3 separate regions of the Homo sapiens genome follow, and all the other regions are linked to region 2. The links are contacts of gene promoters, found by promoter capture Hi-C in human tissues and cell types (Jung and others, 2019). All regions are on one chromosome and are shown on one strand. Each heading gives the region's core, a stretch centred on a gene start or on the middle of the fragment in contact. The rest is flanking DNA. Distances are from core to core; before and after follow the strand shown.

The links. The method cuts DNA at HindIII sites, captures the fragments that hold promoters and counts their contacts. A contact is called where the count stands out against the background at its distance.
Region 1: a contact is called between a fragment that was not itself captured here and the fragment with the promoter of HUNK in region 2, in 1 of the 25 tissues and cell types used here (thymus).
Region 3: a fragment that was not itself captured here is called in contact with the fragment with the promoter of HUNK in region 2 in 1 of the 25 tissues and cell types used here (mesenchymal stem cells).

Annotation. Positions count from the first base shown.
Region 1 is chr21:32,460,228-32,462,982 of GRCh38, reverse strand. All of the region lies in intron 3 of EVA1C (eva-1 homolog C), which reads right to left. Among named protein-coding and RNA genes, the nearest start is that of EVA1C, 49 kb to the right of the region's middle. The HindIII fragment of the contact is 7,847 bases long and covers 1-2,755 here.
Region 2 is chr21:31,871,660-31,874,359 of GRCh38, reverse strand. It overlaps HUNK (hormonally up-regulated Neu-associated kinase), which reads right to left and starts at 1,340. Exons shown (of 11, transcript NM_014586.2): 1 at 425-1,340. The coding sequence starts at 685. RefSeq lists silencers at 67-246, 1,173-1,222. The HindIII fragment of the contact is 17,092 bases long and covers 1-2,700 here.
Region 3 is chr21:32,562,437-32,565,293 of GRCh38, reverse strand. It overlaps CFAP298-TCP10L (CFAP298-TCP10L readthrough), which reads left to right. Exons shown (of 12, transcript NR_146639.2): 12 at 1-1,802. It also overlaps the pseudogene RNA5SP490. Among named protein-coding and RNA genes, the nearest start is that of TCP10L, 22 kb to the left of the region's middle. RefSeq lists an enhancer at 2,382-2,857. The HindIII fragment of the contact is 4,954 bases long and covers 1-2,857 here.

The DNA.
Region 1 (2,755 bases), core at 107-2,606, 590 kb before region 2:
ATAGAGGTGTGGAGTGGGAAATCAGGGGTCTCACAGCCTCCAGAGCTGAGAGCCTCGAACAGAGATTTACCCACATAAATCATCACAGCAAGCCAGTGATAAGCATTGTTTCTATAGATTATAGATTAACTAAAACTATTCCTTATGGGAAATAAAGGGATGGGCCGAAGCAGAGGGATGGGCTCTGGCTAGTTACCTGCAGCAGGAGCACATCCTTAAGGCACAGATCACTCATGCTACTGTTTGTGGTTTAAGAACTCCTTTAAGTGGTTTTCCACTCTGGGTGGGCCAGGTGTTCCTTGCCCTCATTCCAGTAAACCCACAACCTTCCAGCATGGGCATCATGGCCATCACGAACATGTCACAGTGTGGCAGAGATTTTCTTTATGGCCAGTTTTGGGGCCAGTTTATGGCCAGATTTTGGGGTGCCTGTTCCCAACACATCACTAGCCACCTTTCAAAGGTGGGCAGAGGAAGGATCTGCCGCGATGGGAGTATTTTATTACTGACATTGCATACAATTGCCAGTGCATAGTGATGCTGAAATGTAGATAGTCACTTTTATTTATTTTTATTATTTCTTTATTTAGTAAATAAATCTCACCCTGTCATATAGGTTGGAGTGCAGTGGTGAGCTCATAGCTCACTGTAACCTCAAACTCCTGGGCTCAAGCAATCCTCCCACTTCAGCCTCCCAAGTGGCTAGGACTGCAGGTGCCTGCCATGATGCCCTGCTAATTGTTTTTTTTTTTTTTTTTTTTAGAGATAGGGGTCTCCCTATGTTACCCAGGCTAGTCTCTAATGACTGGCCTCAAATGATTCTCCTGCCTTGGCCTCCCAAAATGCTGAAATGACAGGCATGACTATATCCTTTAGTCATTCATATCTTTAGCAGAGTGATTTGAATCAGCTTATTGAAATAATAGCTACCAACTGCTGAGCTCAACTCCATGGTCCTGTGCTAGCGTGTTACATACAACACTGTGTTTTCACAGTCTTAAAACAGCCCTATGCAGAAGAGACATAATCCCATGTTACAACTGAGTCCTAGAAAGTGTCCCTACACTGCCCAACACACAGCAGATACGATATGCAGCAGAAAGGAATATGAACCCAGAACTGCCTAAATCCAAGCCTCGCTGAAACCTACATTTCCTGAAGGGATGCAATTTGGGAGGTGAGATTTTGAGGAAGGAAGCATAGTGCACATTAGGGAAAAGAAGGTTCCGGTGAGCCTTGCTGGTAAAATAGCTTTCCGTAAAGACAAACAAATAAACCCGATCAGTGGCATTTGCCCATTTCCCTGGTGTAAATACTCCCACCGTGGCAGATGCCACAGAACACAGGCAGAGCTGGTAAGACATGTGCATAACTGGCTCTCATCATAAGAACTGGCTCTGCACACCACAGGGTGCAGCAGTGCAGCCTTTGGACAATCACAGTGTCCTGCTCAGACTGGAACTGGGAATTGAGAAGAAGAGCCTCAGGAGGTGTGAGAGATGCAGAAAAAGAGGCAGGAAGGTGTGGAGACAATCTCACTTCCACCTCCTAAATGGCAGTGCTCAGGTTTCTGGTGTTCAGGTTACACAGGGGCTCTGTCTCTCATCTGCTCTCTATGGGGCAGCCAGAGGGGCTTTATGACTTCATCACAGCACCCTCCCTGCTTAAATGCTGCCCTATAGATAGAGCCCCAACTCCTTCCTTGGCTCTGAGGACTCAGGATCCCTACTCCGGCTCCCCAGCTGGTGCTCTCTCCTGTCTTGGTGCTGTGCTCCTACCCTGTGGCTGGCTGCGCCAATGCACCTGCAACCCGCAGCCACAGGCTTCCGTATGGAGCACTCTTTCTGTGCCCTCCATCCCTGCAGTTCTCAGCTCCATCATCACTTGCTCCAAAAAGACTCCACTGAACCCCTAGTCAAGGTCAATTCCTCCTATGAGGCTGGGCACTGTGGTTCACGCCTGTGATCCTAGCACTTTGGGAGGCCAATGCGGGCAGATCACTTGAGGTCAGGAGTTCAAGACCAGCCTGGCCAACATGGTGAAACCCTGTCTCTACTAAAAATACAAAAATTAGCCAGGTGTGGTGGTGTATGCCTATAATCCCAGTTACTCAGGAGGCTGAGGCAGGAGAATCGCTTGAAACCGGGAGGCAGAGGTTGCAGTGAGCCAAGATTGAGCCACTACACTCCAGCCTGGGCAATGGAGTGAGACCCTATCCAAAAAAAAGATTCTTCTGTGAGCTGCTTGCGTAGTACCAAGTGCCTCTCCATGAAGCCCTGACCCTACCTGGAATCTTGCACATATTTGTGTGAAACTCACAGTGAATATCAGGCCCCACGGGACTGGATGATCTGGTTACCGAGGACGTGCTCACCTGTGTCTCCCCAATGCTGAGCACAGGACCTGGCCCCTGCTGGGTGAACATTTGCTCTGTGAATACATATTAAGCACCTGTTCCTCTGGGGTAACAATGCTGAACCACACAGAGTTCCTGCTCTCATCATGCTCACAGTCTGATGCAGTGTGTGTGCAAATCATACACAAGCCACAAATAAGGTAAATCTAAACGATGATGCTGCTATGAAGAAAAAATAGGATGCTGTGATAGAGAGGGGTGGCAGGATGAGAGGAAGATGTTTTTTGTTGTTGTTTTTTGGACAGAGAAAGCCTCTCTTGAAAGGTGCTGTTTGGGGTGGAAATTACACAAGGAGAAGGAACCAGCTGTGTGAAGATCTCAGGAATGCTTGCTGGGTGA
Region 2 (2,700 bases), core at 91-2,590:
TGTTAGCTTTCCTGCCCCCCCCGCCCCCCGACATAAGAGCCCACCTCCTCTAGCCCTGGTTCCCGCCTCGCCACGGATCCGCCGCCCCTGCCGGCCTGAAGGGCAGAGGGGCCCCATCCCGCCCCCCGCGCTAGTGTCGCCAGGCGGCGCCCTTCCACGAGCAGAACGGCCGCGCGGGACGCTTCCCGGGGCAAGGCCGTCCCCTCCCAAGCCCCCAACCCCCGGGCAGCGGACCGCAGGCCGCCTTCGGGAAAGGCTGCGAGATGCTGAGCGCGCGTTTTAACCCAACAGGAAAGCCGGGCGGAGGGGGAAGGCGCTTGGCCCGGGACTGCACACTGGGACTCCCAGTGCAGTGCTCCCCGCGGGGTCCTGGCCGCCGACTCCCGCCCCTGTGCCCCAGCCCCACGGCGCCCGGGAGACTCACCTTCTCCCCGGTCAGCACGTGCAGCCCCTCGCGCACCTTGGCAAAGGAGCCCTCGCCCAGCTTCCTGCTGCCGATGAGGTAGTTGCCCACGCGCTTGTGGTGCTGGAAGTCGCGGAGCCGCTCGCGGGGCACGCCGCTCACCCAGGCAGGCAGGAAACTTCCCTCGCAGGCCGCCGCGGGCCTGGCCGCGTCCTCCGCGCCGCCGCCGCCCCCAGGCGCCGCCGGCTCCCCCAGGAGCCCGTCCCCCGCCGCCGCCGGCATCGCGCTCGCCGCGGCCCGCGCGGCTCCTGCTCGTCTCCCGCGCTCGCAGCTCCTCCTCCCCAGGCTCTTCGGCTTCCCCGGCTTCTCCCGCCGCCGCCCTGGGCCCAGCCCCGCCTGGGTCTCCGCACCCAGAGCCCGGGGCCGCCGCGATCACGCCCCCCGCGCCGCCCAGCGAGGCGCGTAGACAATAGCGGCTGCCCAGGGGACGCGGGACCGGGGACCCCGCCCCCAAAAGTTCTTCCTCTTAGGGTCGCCCGGGCCCCTTTCAGGACACCAGGATCCCGCCCCGGGTCCCGTCCAGGAAGCTAATGACAGTCGCCCTGCTCGGGCGCGCGGGGTGGGGCGCGGTCCGGCGGCGCCTGGGTCCCGGGGTCCGGGTGCCTGGGTCCGGGAGCCCGGGTGCCTCCGCAGCCTCCGCCTCGCCGCCGCCGTCTGGCCCGCACGGGCTTGGGTCGGGCTCCCGCGATCGCTCCTAGCCGTGCGCTGGGCGGCCGCTCCCGCCGGAGAGAAGCGCGCGGCGGGCTGCCGGCGCCCTCTGGAAGGCAGCAGAAGAAAGCCCCATTCAGTTTGAATTTGCAGAAATTTAATCCGCTCGCGGGCGGCGGGAACAGATGCGAGCTCCACTCCGCAGCCCGTGCACTTTCAAATCCCTAGTAGCCCCTCCTTCCCCGCGCGCCACAGTCAAACTCGACCCTCGCTGGAGAGGGGAGGGCCCGGGGAGGGGAGCGGCGGAGTGGACGGAGAAGCCACCTGAGCGCCAGACAGGGAGAACCTGCGCGGCCTCGGAGGCGCGCGCTCCCGGGCCGCCCAGGTCGGGCCGCCTCCGGCTGCGCCTCTTGCCCGGATTCTGGGCTTGGGTTTTCTGGACCTTTCGGCGGTGAAATCCCCCACTGGCCGCACCCACCCGGGGCGGGGGGAAGGGGGAAGGCTCTCGAACTCCGTGGACTGTGAGTCGGGTTGCGTGCCCGGCCCTGAGTCCGCCACACAGTAGGGCCCCCTGGACCGGGGGTGGAAGGATAGATGGATGGCTGGAAGAAAGGGTGGGGAGGCGGCCAGGCGTCTGCCCGGGCTCGCACGCAGCCTGGTTGGCTGTGTTGGAGGAGGCGCAGCCACAGCAGTAATAGTAGCAGCAGCAATGTAGGAACCAGGGCGTTTGCTGCCTCTGCTTGTAGCTTACACCTTCTTTGCCTTCCATTGAAATGATGCCTGTGATTGCAGGAGGTGGACCGGCGCTCGCCTCTCTTCGATGCTTTTGTTCTGCAAGCGCTGTGACTGTGCTCATCGCATAAACAATTGCAACTGCCCTGACGACACTGGACCCTCTCCCAGGATCCCCAACGTCTTCTCAAACCGAAAATGAAGAATCTTGTGAGGGAGAAGGAGGAGGGTAGGTAGGAGGAGGCATTTACAAAATGCTACCTGTTGAGGTGCCCGCATTTGATGGAAACTTCACCCCGATCATGCAACATCAGAGCTGAAAGGAAGGATTTGGTCCTAACAAAGTTCCTTTCATTGTTTATTCCTGAGTAAACAAGTATGACATCGACCCATAGCAATGCTTTGAGATTGGGAGTGGGGGGTGGGGGAACAACAGCTGTCATCAATCCAGTGTCTGGGGGTCTCGCTGACCCATCTGAAGAGGGACGCAGAGAAATGCCTGCTTTCAATACATCTAATTTTAAATACGCTACTATATTCATCCACCTACCTGTTACAAGTCACCAGCCTCAGTTATTATGACGGAACATACTGCGTTTTCTGTTGTTCTGTCTCATTGTTCCCGTTTACCAATATTAAAGATACAGCTTAAAATGTTTTTCTTGCTGTGCTGAAGGGACTTCTTTGCTCCCACCGGCCTTGACTATTTCAGTAACGTTCATTCAATCCTTTTAATGTCTCTAATTCAGTAATCAAATCTTAACAGGACAGTTGCATGGGAGGGGAATGGTAACTAGCGTGGTGCCAGCAGAATAGATGTCCAGCAACTGTCTAAAGAATGAGGAATATGGAGCTCA
Region 3 (2,857 bases), core at 202-2,701, 690 kb before region 2:
AGACAAACACAAAATACTAGTGGGAGGCTTGAACATCCTACTGACAGCGTTAGATCATCAGGGCAGAAAGTTAACAATGAAACTCTGGATTTAAACTTGACACTTGACCAACTGGATCTCAGACAGCTACAGGACACTACACCCAACAACCAAAAAATATACATTTTTCTTGTCTGCACACAGAATGTATTCTAAGATCAACCACATGCTTGATCATAAAAAGTCTCAATAAATTCAAAATGATTGAAGTCATACCAAAGCACATTCTTGAATCACAGTACAATAATAGTAGAAATCAATATCAAGATTGCCTCAAACTATACAAATACATGAAATTAACTAACTTACTCTAGCATAACTCCTGGGTCAACATCAAAATTGAGGCAGAAATCAAAAAAATCGTTTGAAATTAATGAAAATAGGGACACAACTTACCAAAATCTCTGGATGCAGCCAAGGCAGTGTTAAGAGGAAAGTTTATAGCCCTAAATGTCTTCATCAAGAAGTTAAAAAAATCTCAAATTAACAATCTATCTTTGGAAAGGAAGAAACTAGGTCAACTAAGGGAAAGGAACTAGGGAGGAGAAAATCCAAAACTAGCAGAAGAAAAACCACTGAAATTAGAGAAGAACTTAATGAAATTGACATGTAAAAATCCATACAAAAGATCAATAAAACCAAGACTTGGTTTTTCAAAAAAATAAAATCGATAGGCCACTAGCCAGTTTAACAAAGAAAAAGAAAGAGAAGATCCAAGAAAGCACAATCAGAAATGAAAAAGGTGGTTTTTTTTTTTATCAGTATCATAACTGGTCCCACAGAAATACAAAAGACCTTCAGAAACTATTATGAATAACTCTAAGCACACAAATTAGAAAATCTAGAGGAAATGGATACTTTCCTGTAAGCACACGATTTTCCAAGATTGAATCAGGAAAAGACTGTTAACGTGAATAGACCAATATCAACTTCTGAAATGGAATCAGTAATGAAAAACCTACCAACCAAAAAAGCCCTGGACCAGTTGGTTTCCCAGCTGAATTCTACCAGACCGAAAGCAATCCAACACAAAACTACATGACTCAGAAAATATTGTATAAATTGTAGTTTATCGTAGAATTGTTTAAGGGCTCAAATCCCTAGAGATTCTAATTCTGTTTCCTCTAATTACCCCTCCTTCCTCACCTGCATTTACAGAGAACACACATTGGGCAAAATATGTGTCTGTCCTACTGGGAAAGTTTATCAACTCTACATCATAGAACTGAGAACAAATGCGGGGAGAGCTAATGTTTTACCAAGATGAACTTAACCAAACAAAGAGATAGAAATAAAATTCAAAGCCAAGAGCCTTACGTATAGATAAAAATGGAGGAATGAGAACATAGCATTTATCCAGGAATCATGAGTTAATCATGTTACCAGGCTTTAGGGCAAGGGGCTGGGTGAACAGTCACTATAATATTACATGCATAGTTCTTTGAAAATGTCAAGGAAAAGGCCGGGCGCAGTGGCTCACACCTGTAATCCCAGCACTTTGGGAGGCCAAGGCAGGCAGATCACGAGGTCAGGAGATCGAGACCATCCTGGCTAACATAGTGAAACCCTGTCTCTACTAAAAATACAAAAAATAAAAAATTAGCCAGGCGTGGTGGCGGGCACCTGTAGTCCCAGCTACTCAGGAGACTGAGGCAGGATAATGGCATGAACCCAGGAGGCAGAGGTTGCAGTGAGGCGAGATCACGCCACTGCACTCCAGCCTGGGTGACAGAGCGAGACTCTGTCTCAAAAAAAAAAAAAAAAAAGAAAATGTCAAGGAAAACTATTTCCCATGGATTTTTAACTGCTTGAATTCAGGGCAAAGAAAACAAGAAAACTTGAGTGTAATATTAACAAAGACCCTTAAAAAAGATGTTATATAAAAAGAAAAATCACAGTCCAGTGAAAAATACATGAAAAATTCTAAATAACATTTTAGCAAACAAAATCTAGTGATTATTAAAAGTGTAACACAAAAAAGGGAGATTTTTCCCAAGAATGTAATAGTAGTCAAACATTTTATCAAGACATTTAAAAATAAGCATAAAAATAGATGTCTGAGTGCTATTTATAAAATTCAAGATCTATTCCTCCCATCCAAATACTAACCAGGCCTGACCCTGCTTAGCTTCATGAGATCAGACAAGATCAGGCGTGTTCAGAGTGGTGCAGCCATATTCAAGAAGAACTAAAAAGTGTAATAAAATAAGAACACAAGACTATCACTGAAAAGAAGTTCACAATTTCATGCACACACATGAAAAAGTTATAGGCCAAAAGCAATATAGACATGAGAGTCTAGGGGAGGTTAACAGCATCCAGTCTGGAGTCCGAGTACTTGAGAGTTATTCTAAGTTTCTCATTTCTCTGTGATCTTGAGCAAGTTATGAAATTCTCTTTGCCTCAATTCTTTATATTGTTAAATCAAGTTTAGACTAAAGCTGCCTTTTAACGTATTTTAAGTTCAGCCTAAAGGCTTCTCTGTACATAGTGAACTTTAACCTAAATGAAGATGTAAACAGACTGAAGCCTACTTTTGTGCCAATCACCAAGTTTTGGCCAATCAAGGGCTAACTGTTCAAACTATGTTCAAATAAGGCAAATGCCTGCCGAGCTGCAACCAATTTGGTTGTTTCTGTACCTCACATCTGTTTTCTGCACGTCACTTTCCTTTTTCTGCCTGTAAGTCTTCTACCACGTGGCTGCGCTAGAGTCTCTGAGCCTACTCTGGCTCAGGAGGCTGTCTGATTCACAAATTGTTCTTTGCTAAATTAAACTCTTAAATTTAATTCAGCCAAAGTTTTTTCATTTAATAGGT